Linked DNA regions of Homo sapiens: region 1 is linked to region 2. The links are contacts of gene promoters, found by promoter capture Hi-C in blood cells and fetal thymus (Javierre and others, 2016). All regions are on one chromosome and are shown on one strand. Each heading gives the region's core, a stretch centred on a gene start or on the middle of the fragment in contact. The rest is flanking DNA. Distances are from core to core; before and after follow the strand shown. Region 1 overlaps EXTL2 (exostosin like glycosyltransferase 2). Region 2 holds the start of SASS6 (SAS-6 centriolar assembly protein).

Region 1 (5,894 bases), core at 523-3,022, 740 kb before region 2:
ACTGTGGTATATGAAGCACATAGTACAGGGCTGGTAAGTAATACACCTACCATAATTGTTTGCTGCCTCATGTATTATGGCTCTGTATGATTTTGTTTGGGAAAAAGTCTGCTACTACAGAAGTGTAGATTCGAAATTAATATATTACTAAGGGAAATAAAATCCCAGTTGAAAAATAATCTCAGTTCTGGAGATATAGTGATAAAATGATGGCAAATTTTTAAATGCTTAATTTTTCCAATTTTGTGTGTATAACATCTTTTGTCTGCAACTGCGTAACAAGCAGGGCAAGAAGGAAGGGAATATTAAACTGGTTTTTTAAAATCTCTTAGGCCAAATTACCTTATTGAGGAGGAAGGGAGAACTGAATTTGAATCAACTAAAATAAGATTGATATCTTTCCTCATTGGAAAAAAACATGAAAACACAGGGACTCGTAAGAATGCTAACATTTGTATGTTGTTTCCATTTCTACTCCAGGTGTTGCCACATCTGCAAACTTCCTGGGAGAGTAATGGGGATTCGAGTGCTTCGATTATCTTTGGTGGTCATCCTCGTATTATTACTGGTAGCTGGTGCTTTGACTGCCTTACTTCCCAGTGTTAAAGAAGACAAGATGCTCATGTTGCGTAGGGAAATAAAATCCCAGGGCAAGTCCACCATGGACTCCTTTACTCTCATAATGCAGACGTACAACAGAACAGATCTCTTATTGAAACTTTTAAATCATTATCAGGCTGTACCAAATCTGCACAAAGTGATTGTGGTATGGAACAATATTGGAGAGAAGGCACCAGATGAATTATGGAATTCTCTAGGGCCCCACCCTATCCCTGTGATCTTCAAACAACAGACAGCAAACAGGATGAGAAATCGACTCCAGGTCTTTCCTGAACTGGAAACCAATGGTGAGTTGCAGTGTAGTTCTCAGCCTGGAAAGGCTGCCGCTGTCCAGAGCTGGGACAGACATGTGAATTTCTGGCCTTCTGCTTAACCGTCTGGAGAAAAATGAAGGAAGTTAGTCCTAAGAAAGCACTTTGGAAAGCTTGAGGGACAATTTCCAAGATGTCAAGAAGTGGTTTCCTGGCGAAGAGGTTAATATTGTAATAAAGGATATGCTATAATTACATATGATTGCATTACAGTTGATAGTAAGATGCCATTTAGCTTATGCTTAATATATTTTTTTGCCACTCCTCTTTTCCTCCCATTCCTGACAGTTTCATGAGGTTGCAATTTGCTTAAAAGAATCTTGGCTTTATTCATTTATAGGCCCAATAGTTTCTAGGATGATGGATAATAACTGCTTGATTATTTTCCCTTCAGGCAGTTATACAATCAGTTATGATACCAAAAAAATTATTTTCTACTGGACAAATCTCCCCAAGAATACATTGCTTATTTATTGTTGGGTCAGAAAATACTTCATTTGAATGATCTATATAGACACTATTGTATTTTACTACTTTTGTTTTCATTTCCGAACTATTCAACTTAAATTTTTGTCCTTTCATTTTAGCAGTGTTGATGGTAGATGATGACACACTCATCAGCACCCCAGACCTTGTTTTTGCTTTCTCAGTTTGGCAGGTAATGTTGCTGTCTCTTTTATGAAACCGTCTTTATAAGATCTTGACTAGTACTTAACCACGGCAACATGGTTAATATAGAAGTTACCTAAAATATTTTAGATAATATTTATCTAAAAGATGGATGAATTTGTTATAGGCTAATCAAGATTTTCTGAGCTTAGTTCAGCCATCCTGAAAGTTATAGTATCTTTTATCTAGATTTAATTTATATTTTGGTGTATTGGGGAAAAGAGCTAGAACTGCCTTCCAGAGAACAATGGGGAAATGATGTGGTCCAGCAAAAACTAGAATGAGGAGATGTTTTGCCTAGACCACAGACATGTGTCTCAAATGATAAGCCTATTTCTATGTTAATAATGTGTATAACTTTTTGTAAAAGGAAGTATTTATTACCTCCACAAAATTTAATCCTGGTTCTGAGAGCATTGTTTAGAAATTTTGCAGTAATAATTTTACATGTACCATTGTGGTAGGAGGGTTTTGTTTTATTTTGTTTTGTTTTTTCCTAAATCATAGCTTGAATAAGCAGGCATAAATTGGTCAGTATCCTATAAAAGCCGCTCTCTCCTATTGAATATGTGTTAGTAATAGCTAACTTTTACAAGTTGCACTGCCATTACCTGAAACCGGAACTGCATGGAAGTACTTCGAAGCCGTGTCAAATAATTAAACACTGTGCTACCCAGTAAATGATCGAATTTATGCCATGGTAACTTTTAAAATTAGCTTCTTGGGATATAACAGCATTCGATATTAATGGTAAGTGATCACAATACTCAGCAGATATCAGCATTTTTAAAACTTCAGTTTTTAATTTCATGCCTAGTGTGCTGACCAACGAAATTTTTCCATATCAACAATTTTTTTTTCCAGTCCTTGGAATGAAATGAAATACATGAAAGCTTCTTGGACAAAAAGTTCTAATGTGATAATTCAACTGTGAGATTTCTATTGATGCTTAAAAATCCATTTGCCCAAAATGTAAAAATGGAGGCAGAATATGGGGACTGTGGTTAATTGGAACCATCTGAGTAAACTATAAATTAAAGATATATAAATATGATTTCAGGTTTTATTTTTAAAAATATCAAAAACAATTTCAGTCCATTGACCAACTTAAATTCAGTCCAACCCAAACCCTGCATAGCATAATGATCTGAGGTTTGTGTATAAGCAAGCAAGATTCGAGTAGACATTCATCTGTGTCTTTGTATTTGCCCATTACCTCCACTTTTAGTGTTTTCCCTTTTCCCTCTCTAGCCAATTGTGAAATTTCTTTCATTCTCCTAGATTGTATAAATAGCGCATCTTCTCTGAAACCTCCCAGCCTTTATCCCCCATCCCCTGACCTTCCCCTTTGCCTCCCAGCAACACAGTTGTCATTCTACCCTCAATGTGCCCATTGAATTTACCCAGCTGCACTTAAAACAACTTTCTCACAGTATTGTATTTCCTTGTTTGCATATCCATATTATACCCCTCTACCCTCTCTAGACTATAAGTGCTTTGAAATAGCATTTAACTCAGCCTCGTGTGTGTGTGTGTGTGTGTGTGTGTGTGTCCCTAGTTCTGCATCTGTTCAATAAATGAATGAAACTCAAATTATTTATGAGTGAATGAAACTTTCAACCCTATAAATTCTTACCTCTTTCCCATGCTTCAGTGTTTTTCTTTTGTTTGCTGATTGTTGTTTTATTTTTAGTCATGCTCATCTACCATCTATCCTTTCATCAAAGATTCTGATGCATCTCTCTCACATATACATAATATAAACATTTATGTTATATAGATAAGTATAAACATTTATTTATATTATCTCATTTTTTAAAAAAAGAAACACCCAAGCTGAAATGGGATAAATATAACATTGTTTAAAATCAACAGTAATTTTTATGAACATCGAAATCAACATGAAAAAGAGACAATCACACATGTAGGTCCATAATTTTATATACTCCTAAGAGATTAGAACAAATTTTCAAAACGATCCCATTATCTCTTATTTCCTACAACAAATAGCATTCAGGCAGTCAACTTTTCTCGCAGCACATTTTGAAGGATTGGACTCTTTGGTGACTGGAATTTGTTAATGTCAGATAATGTTTGAATTAGGAGAACATTTGTAAGGGTAGAATATTTGTTTTCAGAGATGTTTGGGTTGTGATGCCATTTGACCTGTAAACATATCAGAACACAGATTTATGAAGTTACCTGGAGCTAGATAAAACTGAAATGTAGAAACCAGGAATAAGGAAGAGTTGACAAATCAGTTTCATTCTCTCTGTAATAAATCATTGCCTTTTTCACTATGTCTTCTCTAAAAATATGTGACATTTTATTGTTCTTTTTCCCTCTTTTCAGCAATTTCCTGATCAAATTGTAGGATTTGTTCCTAGAAAGCACGTCTCTACTTCATCAGGTATCTACAGTTATGGAAGTTTTGAAATGCAAGCACCAGGGTCTGGAAATGGTGACCAGTACTCTATGGTGCTGATTGGAGCCTCATTCTTCAATAGCAAATATCTTGAATTATTTCAGAGGCAACCTGCAGCTGTCCATGCTTTGATAGATGATACTCAAAACTGTGATGATATTGCCATGAATTTTATCATTGCCAAGCATATTGGCAAGACTTCAGGGATATTTGTGAAGCCTGTAAACATGGACAATTTGGAAAAAGAAACCAACAGTGGCTATTCTGGAATGTGGCATCGAGCTGAGCACGCTCTGCAGAGGTCTTATTGTATAAATAAGCTTGTTAATATCTATGATAGCATGCCCTTAAGATACTCCAACATTATGATTTCCCAGTTTGGTTTTCCATATGCCAACTACAAAAGAAAAATATAAAAGTAAAACAAACAAAAACAAACCTGAAAACTGCTTGGCATTTGAGTAGCTTCTCCATGCTATGTATTTTTTTAAGCAACATCATGAATTTTATCTACTCCAGAAGTCTCTACAATAGAAAAAAAAGTGCAGTGCTTCTAGGATATAAAATTCACATTACTTTTGAAAGCCAAGAAGTTGGTCTTATCCAGTTAGGTCTTCTTATGAAGAGTTTTCATCCAGGGATATAACTCCTTGGTCAGTGATTTTATTGTTTACATCCTGAGACTGTTCTACAGTTTCTTTGACTCCTGGCATTTGCCTTAAGGACCTATAGCAAGCTGTTTCTAGGATCAGAAACTCAAGAGAGGCATTTCTCTGCTTTTTCACTAAAGGTCAGTTGTTTTAATTTGAAACCTGAAATGCCTCTTTAGCAAAAGCCTGTGGTATGGGGTAAAGCCATGTAAGAAGAGAATAGTCTCAGTCACATATGAAGAGGAAAATTTGCAGCTGCCAGTGCTTTCCTTGTGGCCCTGCCAACCAGCTCTTCCAGGACGAACTCAGTCCAGCATGGTTTTGATGTAACCATCCATGCTTTTATTTTTGTTAAGTCTTTTGTGACTGGGACAGTTAATTTTAGTAGCTGAAGAACGTCTAGTTGTTTGCTTGATATTTGTGAACATTTACTGCATGGATCACAAAACAATATACCCTGTATTTCTTACACGCCACTTATATGCAGCAAGGAGTAAATGTGTTACTAGATTCGGGTAGTGCATTTTGTCACTGAATCTGACCTTGAGAATGTACATTAATTCTTATATTTTACATAATGTATGTGTTGTTTAAGAAATGTATAAAAAACCTGAAAAAAATGAGTAAGAACTGGCAGAAGTTAAAACCCTTTGTATCAAAAGATCTTTATTGGTAGAGCACTGGTTATCTTCTGGATACTAAAAAGTTGTATTACAAAGCCAAACACTTGCATTCACAACTTTAAAAAAAGATCCAAGGAACTATTCATAATGATGAAATTTCAACTACATACAAGGAGGAGAAAATAAGAACCCAGTCATAACAGAGGAATTCTATAGGAGTCTGCATCAATTCATTCTTAAGGTTGCCTACTCTCTGTTATGTGAATTAGCGTCTGTGTTTCACCCATTGTCTGTGTTTAGTCCTTGTTCACCACTAAGGCAAGGAATTCTTAACTAGGCCTCTGTTTACCAACTTCTCTTTCTCCTCCTTTCCCTCTTATTCCTCCTTCTCCTCTTCCTTCTTATATAATGCTAGTATATTCTCAAAATTGCAAAGCTGTGAGAATATTAAAATAATCATGGCTAATGTTCCAATAATGAGGTCTTTGTGCATTTAGTTCCGCATATGATGGTTTTTTTTTTACATTAAAGAGTATATGTGTCTTAATGCAGTCAGATTGTAAAAAACAAAAACAAAGAAACTAAGAATCTTACT
Region 2 (6,629 bases), core at 3,463-5,962:
AGCACCCTTGGAAGACAGAAATGGTGTCACCTCCTGGATCGCATGGCAGCCCTTATTGTACAGTGTAATAAATAAATGTCTACTTATGGAACAAAAGTCAGGCAGGTTTGCCTACTACCCAATTTAAAAATATTTGTATTTCCTGGCTGGATTTGGTGGCTCACGCCTATAATCCTAGCACTTTGGGAGGCTGAGGCAGGAGTACTGCTTGACACCAGCAGTTCGAGACCAGCCTGGGCAACACAGCGAGAACCCCGTCTCTATAAAAAAATAAAAAAATAAGCCAGGTGTGGTGTCGTTTGCCTACAGTCCCAGCTAGTCATGAGGCTGAGGTGAGAGGATTGCTTGAGTCCAGGAGTTCAAGGCTGCAGTGAGCTACGATCACGCCACTGCACTCCAGCCTGAGTGACAGAGTGAGACCCTATCTCTTTAAAAAAAAATTATATTTCCTGAGCTTGGGTTCCTCAGCTATGAAACAAGTACATTCCATGTGCAGCATCTACCAAGGCATTACATACCACATTTCACCATTCAATTTTACTGATCAAACACTTACAGGTTTTGGTTTCTCTCTTGAGTTACATTTTTTCAAATGCTTTGCTAGTTGATCTTCATATACTGTGCTAAATTTAAAGAGAAAATTATTTCAAATGAGACTTGTGCCAATTACTGTTTCCAGCACAAAAAAAAACCCGTATCTGATCCACACTTACTGTTTTGGATCTAAAGGACACAGGATTCTTTTCCGAGCATCTTCTTCCTAATAAATTAAGAGATACATTTATTTAAATAAAATATCAAGTTTATTGCTTACAGATACCAGATATAACTTCAGTGTCTCTGTAATCTCAAAACAAGGTAAGGAAACCTTACAAGGACATAATGAAAAGTTGGCAAAATCAGGTCCCAAGGGTTTAACAAAAACTCTCCAGTGTACTGGCTTAAATACATATGAACAAATACTGCTTTGGACAAACAAGGGTCTATAGCTTCAAACAGGGTATAGAGAAGGCCTACATATGGTGTCTGAAATCTAAGATAGCATCAACTATTATATGTATGACTATTTTATGCACAACCAAGAAAGAAAAAAATGCTGCCTATTTCATGTTAATTGACAAATAGTTGTATATATTTATCACATATTAGGTTTGTACAAAAGTAATTGTGATTTTTATGGCAATAAAAATAATATACACTATTATTTATGTATGGTTTTAATACAACATAATGTTTTCAAATATGTATACATTGTGGAATGGCTAAATCAAGCTAATTAACATGTATTGCCTCACATACTAATCATTTTTTGGAAAATGCTGCCCATTGACATATGGATTTTAAGATGTATCCTGATTTTAGAATGTTAAAATGTAAAAATAAAGTTTCTTAGAAACAATGGAACATGGCATTTTAACCATTTGGATGTGCCATATTTTACTGGCTTTGCAACTTTTTACTATCAGTTACATCCTACTCATTCCTAAGTTACATCACTTAATGACTGGGAATACATTCTGAGAAATATATCTTTAGGTGATTTTGTCATTGGGAGAACATCATACAGTATAGTAACACAAACCTAGATAGTATAGCCTACTGTACATCTAGCCTATATAGTATAGCCTATTGCTACTAGGCTGTAAACCTGTACAGCATGTTACCATACTAAATACTGTAGGCAATTGTAACACAATGTAAGTATTTGTGTATCTAAACATATCTAAACATAGAAAAGGTACAGTAAAAATACAGTATTATAACCTTATGGGACCACCATCATATATGCGGTCTGTTGTTGACTGAAATGTCATTATGTGGCACATGACTATATGAACTGGGAAAAAAGAAAGGAAAATTGATAATGTTGGCAATTCTACCCAATATTCCACATGAATCTGTATAAATAGGGGTCATATAACAGTTAAGAACACAGGCCAGCCAGACTGCCTAGGTATGATACCCAGCTCTACCTACCAGCTACGATCCCTATGACCTTAGTTAGGTAGGCTTACTGCCTCATCTGAAAGATGAGAACAAAAATATGTCTTACCTTCTAAGGTTTGAACACATTAAGTGAGCTAATAGTTAACAAAACAAAACTGCCTAGCCCAGTGCTGTACATAGAGTAAGTGGTGACTAAGTGTCTGCTATTATTATTCTTTTAAAAATTTATTTCTGTTCGAATGTGCCTCTCAGCATGTCCATGAAGCTATTCACACTGAATTTCATGGGAAAGCTAAGAAATTTTTTTTTTGAAAATACTATATATTCAATAGAAGAAAAAGAAAATACTGTATATAATTTCTTCCTTATTGCTGACTTTAAATCCTAACCTCCATGTAAAAGACTATTCTAACCCCCAGAGCCTAACTGTAGCATAGGAAAAAAAAAGCACATTTAAAATTTATTAGTTGAATTTAGAAACAGGAATTCTCAATCTTGGCACTATTGACGTTTTGGGCAGGTAATTCTTTTGAGGGGGTGAGTGCAGGGGGCTGTCCTGTGATTTGTAGGAGGTTTAGCAGCATTTCTGGTCTCTATCCATTAGATGTCAGTGATACTCCTCAGTTTGACAACCAAAATGTCTTCATTTTGCCAAGTGTTCACTGGAGGCAAAATCAGTCCCAGTCGAGAACCACTGGGTAAAAATGAGTGGTGTCATCACAGCTATATATGACACTTAGAAAAAAAGATGGAAACACAACATCCAGTTACATCATAAATTACAGATTCAGGAGGATAGCCACAATTTAAAACGAGATAGTAGTCAATAAAAGTGTTTCCACTTGATGTTTTGCGGTCTCTCTTCAAGTGTCTAATGACAATATGTCGTTCCTCTATAGGAATACTAATCAGCTTGTAAGGATTTATTCATATTCTACTATCATCACTATTTGTTTTCACCTTCCATATATCTGGATAAGGTGGAGTCTAAATCCTTCTCCTATCATAACTCTCATTCTTCAACAAGGGATGTTTGCCAGTCCCCTCAAAACCAGTCAATAGACTATGGGCATAATTCAGAGTTCCCACAACAAATCACGTCTCCCATATTCCAAAACAAGAATGTCCTTGTTTCAGTATGCTTCACTTTTGGTAAATGCCAGTCAAAACAAAATAGGAAGTAGACTACAACTATGATGGAGAGTGGCAGATGAAGGGGGTCAGGGGACTGATCTGCACTGGATATTGTCTAGAAGAATAAATTCCTTAAGAAATAAAATAATGCAAATAATACTGAACATTCAGAAGCATGAAATCTGATGCTGATCGCTTTGGTTTATTCTTTATAGTTCTGTGGAACTATAAGGACATGCTCTCTTCCTATGAGCATTTTGCTCCTCTGGTTTTTATTTTCCCATCTCATATATATCCTAAAGTAATATACATATATACAAATATAAAGTGTTTGATAGTACATTTATATGCATAATTATCAAACAAAATTGTATGCTTTGTTCTCAATTGTAAAAGGTCAATTCGTATATATTTAAAAATCTTTCCTTCCCATTCCAGCAAAGTTGCATTCTTAAAAACTGTAAGTCGAAAAAAATTTTTTTTTCTTTTTTGAGATTCAGTCTGGCTGTCACCCAGGCTGGAATGCAGTGGTGTGATCTTGGATTATTGCCACCTCCACCTCCTGGGTTCAAGCGATTCTCCTGCCTCAGCCTCCCGAGTAGCTGGGGTTACAGGCTCGCACCACCACGATTTTCTTAATTTTAGTAGCTCGCGCCACGGCTGATTTTCTTATTTTTAGTAGAGAGAGGGTTTCATCATGTTGGCCAGGCTGGTCTCGAGCTCCTGACCTCAAGTGATCCGCCCGCCTCGGCCTCCCAAAGTGCTGGGATTACAGGCGTGAGCCACCGCGCCGGGCCTCAAGTCTAAATTTTTAAAAGAAAGTTTCTTCCAACCGCATTCACGAGAAGTGCTTCTCTTTCATGAAATAACAATTAGAACACAACTAGTGAAACCTTTGGGACTTCAATCACTACTTTTTCTAAACTACCACTTTCCAGCAGGAAGACGGAGCGGTAGCTTGGGGTAAAAATTAAAACCTAGCATTACCATGAGTTAAGATCGAGATAAATAGATCAAAATAAATGGGTCACTGCTGGCGCTTTACTTAGAAAAATAAAAAATTTCTCATCACTAGAACTCATAATCGCTCCGCAAGGAGGGCAAAACTGGGTTTATTAAAGTGAAAGCTGGAGAATCCAGGGGACACAAGCAGAAAGCTGTCAAAGAGGGGAGGGGCCGGGTTCCAGCACCGACAGGACCAGGATACTTATTTCCGACTCTTGAGAGAGTAGGGCGATACCACACCTCCGCGGCTCCAGCGTGTTCACCACAAAATCTTTTCCCTGCGGCCACCACCATCCTGCAGAACCGTTTCTTCTTTTCCACATAGTAACCGCATCTACCCTCAGCTGGAAAACCAGGCGCGTGCGGCGACGTCGCGGAGGTCGCCATAATTCTAGGGCTCGCTTCCGGTGTCCAGCATCCGGCAACCAGAAGAAAAGTTAGAAGCTTCCTTCGGGTCTCCTTCCCTTAACAAACATGGCTGCCTCAGCCCCCGCGCCACACAGGTTAATACCCGGAACTACCACAACCGTCTTCCCTTTATCCTCCGCAGAACCGGAAGAATCCGATGGTGGCTGGCGAGGGCCAAGTCTCTTACGCCTTCCCCTCGTTTCTCCCTCCCCGCCTCCTCCGCAGAAGCCGAGCGCCAAACTCAAACTTTATCAGGACCCGGACCTCTCAGGCTAATCCCGAGGGCCGGGCCTGTTGGGCTTTTCTGCACACCAGCCGAGGCAGCGAGCCAACATGAGCCAAGTGCTGTTCCACCAACTAGTCCCGTTGCAGGTGAAATGCAAAGACTGTGAGGAGAGGTAAGGTCCGCGTCATCCAGTGCCCGCGGGTGGCGGTTGGGGTCAGGCCAATGGGGAAAGATGGCGGTTCTGGCCCGTGGGATCCACCTTGCACCTAGGTGTCGAGTCGGCCCCCCTAGGAAGCGGATAGGGAACCCAGAGGGCCCGGTGGTTACCTCTCTCACCAAGTCGGCCGTTGCAGAGGGGACTGGAGGAAGGGTGTGAGGAGTTAGGAAGCCGGCTCACATCAAGTTAATGTCAAAAACCCTACCTGTGCACGGAATCGTGAAGATTATAGCCCTACTCTTCCCTTTTGACAGATAAGAACTCTGGCCCAGAGAAGTTAAAAAAATTTACGTGAGGGCTCACAGCCAGTTCATGGCAGGGTCAGGACTAGAACTCAGGCCTTGGCTCCGAGCCTTTCCCCCTCGTTCTCTTTTGAAGTATGTTGGCAGTAAAGTTCAACTTTTAAAAACCTACCAATTTGGTGGCGTACTTTGGCTCTTCACATCAGTTGCTTTAAAAAAGTAAATTACATTTAACCGACTAAAAATGAGAAAAGCAGAAACGTCATTAATTCATTCAATAAATATTGCCTCCTTGTAAAACACCTTACTGGGCACTGGGAATACAGTGGTCAGGAAAAACAGTCCTTTTCTTCATGGAGTTTACAATCACTGGAGGAAATAAAGACCAGTCGCACAGAGAAGTGCAACTTTGATTAAGGAGGTGGTATTATTGGGGCGTAAATAGATTTGACCAGAGGTCAGGAGACTTACTTTTTTTTTCTCAGTTCTAACACTCAATGGTTGTCTCTTTTTTTCTCTGAACGTTCTTTCCTCATTTGTAAAACTGATATAACATGCGTATTCACGTGTTTGTAATGAGGATCAGGTGTGAAATCTTTTGCGTATTCACGTGTTTGTAATGAGGATCAGGTGTGAAATCGTATGTGAAAACTAAGTGGTGTACAAATGTAACATAAAAAATGAAGACATTGCCTTATTGAGTTGCCAGTAATGTCAAACTGTAGTATATATAGTTCAGAATTCGGTCAAAAATCAATGGCAAGCCGGTCAAGGAGATGGTCCCAAAACCAGCAGCTGCATATGGAGATCTGTAGGTTTAGTTGATCATTCTTTTAATGCTGTCCAGTATGGTAGCCACTAGCCACATGTGGTTATTAGACATTTGAAATGGGGCTTATCTGAATTGTTGTGCTTTACATATGAAAATGCACGTTGGATTTTTAAGACTTACTATGAAAAAAGAATGTAAAATATGTCAATTTTTATATTATGTGTTAAATGGCAATATTTTTGGGTATATTGGGTTAAATACAATGTATTATTAAAATTAATTTCACCTGCTTTTAAAAGTCTTTTTAAAATGTGACTTCTAGAAAATTTAAAAGTAGGCTAGGTATGGTGGCTCACACCCGTAGTCCCAGCACTTTAGGAGGCCAAGACAGGAGGATTGCTTGAGCCTAAGCTTGAGGTTACAGTGAGCTACTATTTGTGCCACTGTACTCCAGCCTGGGTGATAGAGCGAGATCCTGTCTCTGAAAAAAAAAAAAGAAAAAGAAAAAAATTAAAATTACATACCTGGCTCACATTTGTGGCTTACATTGTATCTCCATTGGACAACACTGTTTTAGAATGATTATAGAAAGATAAAGGAGGCCATGACTTTGGTTTCAATATGGAAACTCCTAGATGGTCTCTTTCTGGTTACATTGCCATCACAGTTAATCTAAAA

What was found. Contacts are between HindIII fragments. The CHiCAGO score rates a contact against its expected background, and 5 or more counts as called.
Region 1: a fragment that was not itself captured here is called in contact with the fragment with the promoter of SASS6 in region 2 in 4 of 17 cell types (megakaryocytes, M1 macrophages, monocytes and 1 more); the score reaches 13.7 in megakaryocytes.

The regions. Positions count from the first base shown.
Region 1 is chr1:100,872,490-100,878,383 of GRCh38, reverse strand. EXTL2 (exostosin like glycosyltransferase 2) reads left to right here. Exons shown (of 5, transcript NM_001033025.3): 3 at 481-908; 4 at 1,520-1,590; 5 at 3,954-5,894. The coding sequence ends at 4,442. Among named protein-coding and RNA genes, the nearest start is that of EXTL2, 19 kb to the left of the region's middle. The HindIII fragment of the contact is 1,449 bases long and covers 1,048-2,496 here.
Region 2 is chr1:100,131,013-100,137,641 of GRCh38, reverse strand. It overlaps SASS6 (SAS-6 centriolar assembly protein), which reads left to right and starts at 4,712. Exons shown (of 17, transcript NM_194292.3): 1 at 4,712-4,892. The coding sequence starts at 4,828. It overlaps TRMT13 (tRNA methyltransferase 13), which reads right to left and starts at 4,479. Exons shown (of 11, transcript NM_019083.3): 1 at 4,327-4,479; 2 at 714-760; 3 at 557-623. The coding sequence starts at 4,473. RefSeq lists silencers at 2,495-2,789, 4,927-5,090 and enhancers at 4,265-4,794, 4,805-4,924, 4,329-4,931. The HindIII fragment of the contact is 1,832 bases long and covers 4,533-6,364 here.